Regions from separate parts of the Homo sapiens genome. Here all the other regions are linked to region 2. Evidence: promoter capture Hi-C in human tissues and cell types (Jung and others, 2019). All regions are on one chromosome and are shown on one strand. The core of a region is centred on a gene start or on the middle of the fragment in contact, and the rest is flanking DNA. Distances in the headings are between cores, read along the strand shown. Region 1 has its middle 39 kb from the start of IYD. Region 2 holds the start of MTHFD1L (methylenetetrahydrofolate dehydrogenase (NADP+ dependent) 1 like). Region 3 overlaps PLEKHG1 (pleckstrin homology and RhoGEF domain containing G1). Region 4 overlaps AKAP12 (A-kinase anchoring protein 12).

What was found. The method cuts DNA at HindIII sites, captures the fragments that hold promoters and counts their contacts. A contact is called where the count stands out against the background at its distance.
Region 1: a fragment that was not itself captured here is called in contact with the fragment with the promoter of MTHFD1L in region 2 in 1 of the 25 tissues and cell types used here (dorsolateral prefrontal cortex).
Region 3: a contact is called between a fragment that was not itself captured here and the fragment with the promoter of MTHFD1L in region 2, in 1 of the 25 tissues and cell types used here (lymphoblastoid cells).
Region 4: a fragment that was not itself captured here is called in contact with the fragment with the promoter of MTHFD1L in region 2 in 1 of the 25 tissues and cell types used here (mesenchymal stem cells).

What each region holds. Positions count from the first base shown.
Region 1 is chr6:150,406,654-150,409,474 of GRCh38, forward strand. No RefSeq gene overlaps it. Among named protein-coding and RNA genes, the nearest start is that of IYD, 39 kb to the left of the region's middle. The HindIII fragment of the contact is 4,244 bases long and covers 1-2,821 here.
Region 2 is chr6:150,863,988-150,867,056 of GRCh38, forward strand. MTHFD1L (methylenetetrahydrofolate dehydrogenase (NADP+ dependent) 1 like) reads left to right here and starts at 1,715. Exons shown (of 28, transcript NM_015440.5): 1 at 1,715-2,062. The coding sequence starts at 1,836. RefSeq lists silencers at 1,557-1,786, 1,847-2,256, 2,417-2,616, 2,737-2,886. The HindIII fragment of the contact is 14,014 bases long and covers 1-3,069 here.
Region 3 is chr6:150,602,668-150,605,506 of GRCh38, forward strand. All of the region lies in intron 1 of PLEKHG1 (pleckstrin homology and RhoGEF domain containing G1), which reads left to right. Among named protein-coding and RNA genes, the nearest start is that of PLEKHG1, 4.2 kb to the left of the region's middle. The HindIII fragment of the contact is 3,558 bases long and covers 1-2,839 here.
Region 4 is chr6:151,243,190-151,246,324 of GRCh38, forward strand. The region is part of intron 2 of AKAP12 (A-kinase anchoring protein 12); the gene reads left to right. Among named protein-coding and RNA genes, the nearest start is that of AKAP12, 4.8 kb to the left of the region's middle. The HindIII fragment of the contact is 4,236 bases long and covers 1-3,135 here.

The DNA.
Region 1 (2,821 bases), core at 177-2,676, 460 kb before region 2:
TACTGCTCTATACCATTGTACGAACATATCGCACATTTTTCATTTTCTTATGAGTTGTCATTTAAATTCTTTTACATTCATTCTTTGTCCTGTGGGAATGTTTAAGAATTTCTCTAGGGTATATACCTAAGAGTAGACTTACTGGGTCAAAGAGAAGTCAAATTTCAGCTTTTCTAGATCTTGCCAAATTGTTCTTCAAAGGTTTTCCCCCTCCCCCTGATTTTTAAAAACTCATTTACTGAGTAACTCCCATAATGCAATCATAAATTCTAAGATGATTTATCAATCATGCTCCCCTCTCTATTCCTGGTGCCGGTAGCTGCTATGTGAATATTTGTTGAATGGATGAAGAAATGTAGGCTAAGAGGGGTGCTGTGACTTGTCTAGAGTCACAAAACTATCTTAGTGACCAAGCAGGATTTGAGCCCAGGCTGCTGACTCCCTAAGAGGAAGTGGTTATTGTAAAGACAATTCCCCAAGCTGTGATTGCAAAGGTCCTGTCTCCAGGAGAAAGTCTTACACAATTTCACACTGAATAACTGGGACCCTTCACACAGTGCTTGAGCTGGTGTGGGCCAGACATGCTCCCAGTGCAGATGGGAGTTGCAGTTCTGGAAGATTCTTCAGCAGATGCAGATTTGAACCTCAGAGCGCAGGAATTGAGTCTCTGTGGTGATGGAGTTGAAGTAGCAGGAGGACCCCAGCAGGGTGGGGAATGGCAGGGTAAGTGGGTCACTCAACTGACCCTCAGAGGTTTTCTGTACAAAGCCCTGAGATCATGTCCACCTTAAATTTAAAAAGCAAAGAAGGAAGCACAAAGAGATCTTCTCTCTAACTCACCCATTGTCCTTGGAGAACAGCCCTGGAGATTGCTTTGAGCAGAGTTGGAAGGCCCCATGGGGACAGCGCAGATACATGCACAAGCTTGGACACCGTTGGTTTGGGGTCTTCAGTTTGTGTTTATTCTGGCCCTTCCTTCTAGCCAATTTGCATTTGGTTTTCATTCCACACTGTCTTGGATCCAGCCTGGAATGTATAAATCACTTAACTAGCAAGCAAACATCAGGGCCACCAGAGGATGGAAAAGAAAACCCCCAAAGTGGGTTTGAAGAAGGACAACTGGATAAAGGTGAAGAGGGAGAGAATGGGCGGGCAGGAGGCAGAGAGAAGCTGAGGACGTGAGCTGTGATTGTGCCTCCTCGTCTCCTAAGGATCAGCTCAGCCAACTGGGGTACCTGGAGAGAGAGGCAGAGAGGAGAAGCTATAAGGAGCATGTGTGCAGAAGGAGTATAAAATAGAACAAGCCCATGAACCTAGCTTCAGGGAAACTGACCATCACTCAGAGTGTCTGCTTCCCACCAGGGGGTTCCATTGAATCAACTTGAACCTTCTGTATGCCCGTTGGGCCCCCGGCTTGCCCTTCTTGCTCAGATCAAGAATCCCCTTCCATGTCTTTCTCCCAGATTTACGTCCCCATCCTTGAAGGCCAAGCGTTATGTCACTTTGTCAAAGCTTCCCTGGATTCTCCCATCAGACTTCAGCAGGGAAAGAGGAAGGCTGAGCTCATCTCTTTCCTCTGAGCATCTTGGGCTCCCTGCCTATGACGCTGGCTGCCCTTCTCCTTGGACCAAGCCTTCTGCTAGACTCTCAGCTCTCAGAGAGCAGAGACCAGTCTACCTCAACTCTGTGTCCTGGGGCTCCTGGGGGCCATGGTAGGTATCAGCTGGTAAGGTTGTCATTGCAGAGAATCCTTGCAATTTGAATGACACCACTGGATGGTTACAAGCCTTCAAAAGCTTTTCTGCATTTTTGCTGGAGAACTCTTGGGAAAAAAGAGTGCCTGAATCTCTCTGATTTAGTAGCTGGATGAACCAGTTACAACACAACCCACGTAATTACAGGGAGTGTTGTGGGGTGGGGGGGATGTGAGGAGTTTGGGGCAGCAGGAAGAGGTTACGCTTAGTGTGACCTCTTTACTCTTTGGCGCCCTGTGTTCGTAACATAGTTTTGGTCACGGACTGGTAGCATTGAGCTGACTAAACATTATGCTTTTGTGAAATTCTGGACTGGAAAACGAATTGAAAGGCTATTTCTAAGCCCATCTTCTGCTCTTGGAAGGAATAAATGCACCCCACGCTGCTGCACTCTAAGAGATTACAGGGCCGCTCAGACAAGATCTGGCCAGGTAGAGAGATACCATGCTAATTATTTTCAGAAGGGGAATTTAAAACAAGGAATTGATTGCACTGTGGGGAGAGTGAGGCAAGAGTGATTAGCCCTGACCCCTCCTACCCAGCACTAGAGGGACGGGGCTGGAGGGGCCTCACTAGAGCCCAAGGTCTGGGAGCACCTGGAGGAAGGTGGAACCATAGACAGCTTGCCAAGAAGGGCTGGTGCCAGGGCAATGCAGCCACAGCCAACAACGCCGCCCGAGGCAGAGGCGGAGGAGGCATACCTTAAGTTTTCTCTTCCTCCCACCAGTGCTTCCCATTGACTGAATTAACCCCGTTCCCTCCTTTCCTTTTTTCCCTTCTTTCTTTCTCTGTCTTTGTTTTAAGAAAAACTTTTTTTTAAGAGAAGGGAACATTTTTCTAGAGCTCACCAGTATCTCTAGAAAAGAGAGTAGCACATTTACAATAAAGAAGTAAAAAAGAGAGTGCCCTTGCAGCCCTGACTGCAACGAGGAATGATGTCTTTTCCTCCCGGATTTCAAAGCACCCATGTGAACTGCAGACGAATGAACCCATCTCACTGGAGGTGCGGTGGGACACTGGCACACAGTGACTAGTGGGTAGGAGCATGGGCCCTGGAGCCAGACAAC
Region 2 (3,069 bases), core at 465-2,964:
GAAGGGTCCTTCCAGCACTGTCCCAGTATGGTGCTCGGCTAATGGAAAACCAATCTCTGTAACTTGGACTAGTTTTATTCCCACCTTATCTGGGAATTATAAGGGTATAAGGTTGTAAAAATATAAAGTTAACAATCTGACCCTCACTTGGGAATCATAAAATTACAATCTGATATCCACTTTACTTGGAACTTATGGTCAGCCCTCTGTATCCTCAATCAACCTGGGACTGAAAGTATTTGAAAAAATTACAATAACAAAAAATAATAAAAAATCATAGAAATAAAAAAGTACAGTGTAATATCTATTTACATAGCATTTACATTGTATTAGGTATTATAAGTACAGCAGGTCCTGGAATAACATCATTTCATCATTTTGCTCAGTGGTTTTCTTATAATGATGAGAAAAAAATAGATTTCTGGCTGGGTCCACTGTCACGTTTTATCCATGTCTGTGTGGATTTTCTCTGTCTTCTGGTGTCCTGTCACATCCCAAAGCCGTGCAGTGCACTTTAGGTAAATTGGTGCATCTACACGATCCGAGTGTGAGTGTGGGTGTGTGTGAGCACACCCTGTGAGGTGCCCTGAGTTGGAATAAGCCGGTAAAAATGATCTCACTTTTATTAATCTTTATTTTTCTCTAAGCGAGAGGGATAGGGGGTGTTTAAAAAAAACTTTTTCTTTGAGACAGAGCTGTGCTCTGTCGCCCAGGCTAGAGTACAGTGACATGATCTCGGCTCACTGCAACCTCTGGCTCCTGGGTTCAAGCGATTCTCCTGCCTCAGCCTCCCGAGTAGCTGAGAATACAGGCACGCGCCACCACACCCAGCCAATTTTCTGTATTTTTAGTAGAGATGGGGTTTCGCCATGTTGGCCAAGCTGGTCTTGAACTTCTGGCCTCACGTGATCTGCCCACCTCAGCCTCCCAAAGTGTTGGGATTATAGGCGTGAGCTAAAAATCTTCCTTAAATATATGCATGGCTCACACTTATTTCAATGTTTAATATTAGAAGTGTTTTGGTCTTTATTTCGAAGTTTAGGGGCGATTTTGTGACCACAGATATGTTGTAGGAACTTCACTCATATCAATTAGCCTGTGGTCAAACTGTTTTCCTTACAGTCATTTGGCTTAAAGTTTCAGTTTCCAAGAACCCCTCCACGATGTTAGGTGAGGACTTAGGGAATGTGGAGATGACCTAAAGTTTATGATGGGAAGATGTGTGTAGGTGATATGCAAACACTTTTTTTTTTTTTTTTTTTTACCAAGGACTTGAGCATTTGTGGACGTGGGTCCCCTGGAGGGGCCCTGGAACCAATCAGGACTATAAAATCCTTTTAAGGTTTTAAGAAGAGCATTGTTATCTCTGTGGTACTGACGAAGACCCCGCAAGCTCACCGAGATTAAGTGCCCCTGCCTAAGGTTACAAAGCCTCTTATCCTCAGGCCACCTCCAGTACAGCAAATCCAAGCCCTCCCGTCTAAACTTGGCGCCCTGAGTACCAAGGGTCACCTCGGCCTTTCAGGCTGAAGGGAGGGAGGCTGAGTCTCAGGGCAGAGTCTGAGTCCCACTCCGCACCCCACCCTCTGTCTGGTACAGCTTACCAAACCAAAGTGCCCAAAGCCGTGACATCCCGGCCGGCGGCTCGCAGGCCCCCGCCCTCCGCACGTCACGGCCGCCGGGTGCAGTGCCCCCTAGGGGCCCCTGGGACGAGGAGGAAGCGCCAGGTCCTTCCCGCCGCCGCCGCCGCCGCCGCCGCCTGCTCCCCTGGCACGCGCCCCGCCGCCCTCGGCAGCCGCAGCTCCGTGTCCCCTGAGAACCAGCCGTCCCGCGCCATGGGCACGCGTCTGCCGCTCGTCCTGCGCCAGCTCCGCCGCCCGCCCCAGCCCCCGGGCCCTCCGCGCCGCCTCCGTGTGCCCTGTCGCGCTAGCAGCGGCGGCGGCGGAGGCGGCGGCGGTGGCCGGGAGGGCCTGCTTGGACAGCGGCGGCCGCAGGATGGCCAGGCCCGGAGCAGCTGCAGCCCCGGCGGCCGAACGCCCGCGGCGCGGGACTCCATCGTCAGGTGAGTGTCGGGTCTGGCCCTGGCCCAGGTCTCCAGCGGCTGTGGCCCCGACCCAGGGGCGGAGCGCCCGGGACCGCCGTGGGGAGCGGGGCGCGGGGCTGCGAGTGTTTGGTGCCAACTCATTAGGGGGGCCGGGCGGTGTGTCGGGAAACGCGGGCTTGGGCACTGCGGCCGGGAGCGCTGGCGGAGAACGGGGGATCCAGTACCCGACCGGGCCCGCAGCGCAGGTGGGCGTGGGCATCTCCAATGGGCGCCTAGCGGCATGGACCGCACGCCCGGCTCCACGTGCGCAGCCGGCCGCCGGCTCTGATGCAATCGCGCCGGGCGCGACCCAGACGGTAAAGGGGCGGTGCGGCTGGGGCGGAAACCAGGGGAGGGGGCGAGGAGCAGGAGGAGGGCGGGGCTGCGGCTCGGCGCGCCGGCTGGCCCGGGGTTCGGGAAGGGCAAGCGGAGCTCGGGAGAGGCGGGCTCGGGCCCAGCGCCGCCCGCGCGAAGCTCCCTGGTGTTGTGCGCCCTTCCCCGCGCGCGGCCCCTCCTGCTGGGCTGGGGTCTGTGGCTGACGTCCGCTTTTCCCGGAACGGCAAAGGTGGAGCCGGGCCCCCGGGACAGCCGCCGGGGGGAATCCGAGAGGTCTCAGCGCTGGTTTCCAGCTTCGCCGCGCAGCGCCCACGGAGTCCCCGCGCAGCTGGGTTTGCAGGGTTTTCTGCGGGCCCAGAGCGAACTGGGAGCCCCGGGCCCGGCCTTTCCCGTCCCGGTCCCCGCCCCTGGGCTCCAGCCTTCCCCGCCCTCGCCCAGAGGGGCGCACGGGTCTCGGGCCTTGCAGGGCGAGCCCTTCGGGACAACTTGGGGGTGGCAAGAAAGCCCCTTCCGCCTCCCTCGGAACTGGGATTAGGAACGAGTTCCAGGATGCGGTTTCCCCGGCCAGCGGACCACCTCCTCCATTCACATCCTCTTCCCTTTCCTTCTAGCCTTCTTTCTTAGTCATTGCCTGCTTGCCTTTCTCTCTG
Region 3 (2,839 bases), core at 249-2,748, 260 kb before region 2:
ATGATTGTTGTTGATAAACCAAGTCCCAGGAGTGTATGATTTTGCAGAAGTTTATACATAGCTCTGGACTGTCAGAACTGTGATTTAACCAAGGTTCTCTTCTCTCTCCCCTGCCCCTCTTGAACTGCACTGCCTAAGAAATGTTGGTTGCATGGAGACATATTTTTAATTAAATGTAATGGTTCAGTCTTTAAGAAAAAATTATAGATCGAGACCATCCTGGCTAACACGGTGAAACCCCGTCTCTACTAAAAATACAAAAAATTAGCCGGGCGAGGTGGCGGGCACCTGTAGTCCCAGCTACTCAAAAGGCTGAGGCAGGAGAATGGCGTGAACCCCGGGGGGCGGAGCCTGCAGTGAGCCGAGATCGCGCCACTGCACTCCAACCTGGGCGACAGCGAGACTCCGTCTCAAAAAAAAAAAAAATAAAAAAAAAGAAAAGAAAAAATTATAATCCCTTGTCTCTTTTGACTTAGGAAAAATATGGTTTCTAATGCGAAATGTTGGTGTATTCAGGCAGGGATGGGAAGGAAAACATTTTTTAGACAAAGGGTCTGTAAGCAACCTCATGCTTGTGTGTGGCAAGGCATCTCAGATATTAATGTTTCATCACAGGCTTGCATCAATCTTGCTTGATAAAATTAAAAGCTGATCCCAATCCATTCGGTCATTCAGAGTCACGGGCAGTCTGTGCCAAGTAGAATTTACTGACAGAAGAGTCAGCTTTCAAGTGATTAAGAGATGACTACATCTTCAGCTTTATATTGTCTATGCTGATGAAAAGCAATAAATGCTTTAGCTGAGAAGACAGAAGTATATGGCTAATCACCTAGCGATGGGGCCCAGGTTTGCTGTGGAATACCTGGGCCATAGCGTATCTAATGCTGCAAAACAGCTTCAGGTATGCCTGGGTGATTTCCAGTCCAGTGATTAGGAGTTGACTGTGTATCTAGAATAGTCTTCATGTTTGAGGCTGAGTATCTTTTCAATATGTAAACCTAAGGTTAAAAAAAACAAAAAACAAAACCAAAAACACTTTTTCTGATGAGATACAAGCCAAAGTAAAAATTTCCACATCTAAACATCCTTTGGTAAATATTGAATTACCGTTTGATGGAAAGCTAAATCCTGCTGGATTCGTGGATCCGCAAATCCATAACTCTCCTCTTCTTTTCCCCTCCCTTCGTGGTCCTAGAGGGAAGGCAATTTGAAGAGTGTTAATGGTAGGCTAAGTTTTTTAAAAATTCCATCTACACCCACTTGTAATAACCTGATGGGAGGAGAGTCAGGGCTTTCACTCGGTCTTTAATTAAGAAAGTTGTTTTGGTAAGCTTTAAATACCAGGGTGTTATGGAGGCCTCTTAGCACCAGCACTAGGAAGGGCAAACCCTTTGCCATTATAGCATTTGGCCAAAAGCTAGCAAGCCCATTTATGTATAAGAAGGAAATGTTTTTAAATCATCAAAGAAAAATTTAAGATAAGCATGAGTCTAATAACAGCTAAAACTTTAGTATTCTCATAAGAGGAATTATTAATCCATAAATCATCATAGTATTAAATGAGCTCTAATATTTGAAGTGGTGAATAGATCTAGTTCTCTGGGTCTAGTCACATTGAGCACCAATTTAAATGGCCTGTGACTGTCTAGACATTGAAAAGACACGTAAAGTCCTAGGTGAGGGGATGGCAAGTCTTTTCCTGTAAAAATCCAGGTAGCATTTTAGGCTCCACATGTCTCTGTCATATACTGTTTGATTTGAGATGAGGGTTATTTGTTTACAACCCTTTAAAAATGTAAAAACCAATCTTTGCTCACAGGCCATACAAAAACAGGCTGGATGTAGCCTGCAGCTATAGTTTGCTGGCTCTGTTTTAAATGAACTATTCTGTTTTGTAGTGTCCTTCCGTATTTTCGTTGAGACCCAAGATGACAAGTTTCATTGGCTCTATCTATGTTGACTCATCATAGACGGACTTATAATCAAGATCATTTCGTCACTCGGTTTCCTAGTCACCTTTTTATATTTTATCTTTGCCCTGGGGCTAGAAGTCTCTGTTAAGCATAGCCATCAGTTGACATAGAAATGGCAGTGCCAGACGTCAACATTCTACTTTGAGTTAGATGCTGAATGGGGGAGAGAAGTTGGACTGGATTGGGATAAAGTCCATGGTTGACACAGACCACAGATAACTCCTATGAAATGAGGCCCAAACCTCTGAGCAAGGCACCCACAGCCCTTGTATCTACTCTTCTCCTGATACCTCTTCATGTATACCCTGTGTCCTTGCCATTCAAGTAACTTGCAGAGCCCTGGGTGGGCCGCACTCTCTCTCACCAGTGGTGGGGTCGTTCCACACAAAGTTGAAATATCTGTCTCTTCCCTGCAGCCCTTCCTCATTTATTGGACAGAGATGCCGTCACCTCCATCTCTATGTTTGCACAGGAGTTTATAAATGAAGCATTTAGAGGTCTAGAGAAATGTGGTGATTCCCCATTGGCAAATATTACCTTTCAAAAGTGGGGGAACAGTTGTATTCTTCTTTGTATAATAACTTCATCTTGCCTTACATCTCTAAACCAGCCAGAGAATCAAGCACAAAACAATTCCAGGGCCTTGGATGCGATACACAGTGTAGCAGAGTACATACGTGTATGGGCTTTGAAGTCAGGCTGAGCTGAGCTCTAGTTCTTTGTTTTCCCACTTACCTGCTGCAAGTTCCCCATCTGTAAAGTAGGGAGTAAGAATGACCTTTCAATTATTAGGAATAAATGGGATTTCCCTCTGTAAAGCATTTAGTTCAGAGTCTGACATGTAGTAATTGCTCGATAAATGGTAA
Region 4 (3,135 bases), core at 454-2,953, 380 kb after region 2:
CATTTCATACCCTGAGTTACTTAGGATTACATCTTGAACTTCCTTGATGTGTCTGTGGACGGTTGGGGAGGTTTAGGCTAATACATCATTTTTCCCTCCTTGGATAGAATGTGGTCATTAATTAAAGGTTGTAGGCAGATCTTTTTCTATCTAATAGCTGACATTTATATCACATGCATGCTATCTATTTAGCAATTGGATTTACTTTCCTTTTTTTCTGCTAGTTTTAGTTACCAGTTATTCACTAAGTGCCCTTATCTGAACAGACATTACACTGGTTGAATTATCACTTGTATTAGGTCAAATGGAGAGTTAAACAAGCTTTTGATTACTCAGGCTTAACGTTTAGATGCACTAAAGCAGAAGTCTTGGTTTTATCTATGGTTCATTTCTGTAAAATGGAAGGAGTCTTTATCTTCTATTCAATCTTTTGTAATCTTTATTTTTTCCGTTAGATCCAGAGATAGACTGGAAATCTTTTACAGTCTTTATATGTAAGATCCAGGCGGGGGCAGGGGGAATGGCTTGGTCTGTTATCTGCCAGGGTTTAATTTTGAGACATGGCCGTTTCACAACTGCAGGGTGCGGGAAGATTAGATGACCTGAATGCTGGTGGTAAGTAAAGCCTCACACTTCACATTATTCCTTAATTGTCTGTTTTTAAAAATTTGTCTTAAAAAAATATTAAGGTGGCAACATATTCAGGTGGCAACAGAGGGTGGGGTGACCAGTGACAAACTGACTTCCATGTCTCTGGCTAATCTTGATTTCTGGAGCCAGGCTCCAGACTAAGTCTGGACAATCAATTAATTAGCCTTTCTATATGTATTGCCTGATGAATGATTTCAATGCTGGACATTGAACAATGGTCTGTTGCAACAGGGTGAGGCCATTGTCTCTGGCAGGTGGGGAGATGGGGGCTCTTGTTAGCTCCATTTGATTACAAGAGCCTTGAATCACCAAAACATAAAGATGTACTCGAATAGAAGAGTCCGTTGTCTGACTGGTAAATTTAAGGATGTGTTTGACCCTCGTGCATTAAAACAGACAATTGGCCGGGTGCGGTGGCTCACGCCTGTAATCCCAGCACTTTGGGAGGCTGAGGCAGGCAGATCACAAAGTCAGGAGATCCAGACCATCCTGGCTAACACGGTGAAACCCCATCTCTACTAAAAATACAAAAAATTAGCCAGGCGTGGTGGCGGGCGCCTGTAGTCCCAGCCACTCGGGAGGCTGGGACAGGAGAATGGCGTGAACTCGGGAAGCGGAGTTTGCAATGAGCCGAGTTGGCGCCACTGCACTCCAATCTGGGCAACAGAGCGAGACTCTGTCTCAAAGAAACAAACAAACAAACAAACAAAACCAGACAATTGAGGCGGCCAGCTGCATTTCATAATTCCTCCCATAAGCTTCCTCCTATTTGCCACTTGTTTAGCAATGGAAATGGAGAACGAAGATGGCCTCAAAGTGACTACATCACCAGTGTTACAAAAATGGGCCAGAATTTAAGGCAAGAATTATATGTTTCTTAATAGAGGGATGTTTCTCTGTGTGTGGCTACTTGTATTCCTGTGGATTTTTACCAGATTATAAGAGCTGCTAATTTCTGATCAGAACAGAGACCAAAAATTGGAGATATGGATGTGGGGATGATTCTTTTGGGTACCGATAGACTGCAGGAATCGCAGGGCTTCCTTTAAATCCATTACAGCTTATAGGCTAGTGGATGAATAAGATAAGTGGAGATTTTCTCTTGAAATATTTCCTTCTATGAAGAAAAGGCCTTGAAATGTGCATCCTCTTTGGGTTGACTAATTTCTATGCCTTTACAGCTTTAAGCTGACATTATAAGATTATTCTAGTTTGGATCTTGTAAGATAATTAACAAAATGGAAATAAAATGTTTTGTTTTTAAAAATGCTAATAAATTATTTATTTTCCTTTGTCTTAGTTAGTTTTAATACATATTCAGTGCTTAAAGAACACCAGTGCAGGAAAACTCAAACTAAATGGCATCATCCCCCATCTCTATAATTCTATATGCAGTAGCCATTCATGCGAAGTTAGAAATTAGAATTTATAGCACTAAGCATTCTAAGAAAAATTAAGCCAGTACGTTTATCTCTTGAAAAAAAAAAAAGCAACTAAATTTCCTTGAACCGAATTCTTTTTTTTGGCTCACTGCAACCTTTGCCTCCCAGGTTCAAGCGATTCTCCTGCCTCAGCTTTCCGAGTCGCTGGGATTACAGGCACCCACCACCACGCCCAGCTAAGTTTCTGTATTTTTAGTAGAGATGGGGTTTCACCATGTTGGCCAGGCTGGTCTCAAACTCCTGACCTCGTGATCCACCCGGCTAAGGCAGGAGAATGGCGTGAACCCGGGAGGTGGAGCTTGCAGGGAGCCGAGATGGCACCACTGCAGTCACCACTGCAGTCCAGCCTGGGCGACAGAGAGAGACTCCGTCTCAAAAAAAAAAAAAAAAAAAATCAAAAGCATGTGTTTACCCTTATTAATGATTTTTATTTAAAGTCATTGCATAGCAATATTCATTTAATGTTTATTTTTTAAAAAAATTAATGATTGAGAACTTAAATTTATAAGTAGGGTAAATTACTCACAAATTTAAGTAAAATTTGAAGCCAATATGATGGCTTCTTACATATTCTTTCGAAAACTTCATGCACATGAAAGTAGATAAAAATGGCACAGTCTTTTCCATTTAAGAAAAAGATCATATCACATATAGATTTAGGTTTTGGATGTCTTTTCATATCAGGACATAAATAACTGCCCCCATTCTTATTAATTTGGGTGCATAAATTTCCCTTTTGTGGGTTGAAGCCCTGTAACGATTTAACCAATTCCTTGGGTTTATATTTAGATTGTCCTCGTCCATAAGTGTAATTGCTGAATTGCAAGCTTTATATGCATTTAAAAATTTAACCCGGCAAGGTGCGGTGGCTCACGCCTGTAATCCCAGCACTTTGGGAGGCCGAGGCAGGTGAATCACAAGGTCAGGAGTTCGAGACCAGCCTGGCCAACATGGCGAAACCTCGTCTCTACTAAAAACACAAAAAATTAGCTGGGTGTGGTGGCAGGTGCCTGTAATCCCAGCTACTTGGGAAGCTGAGGCA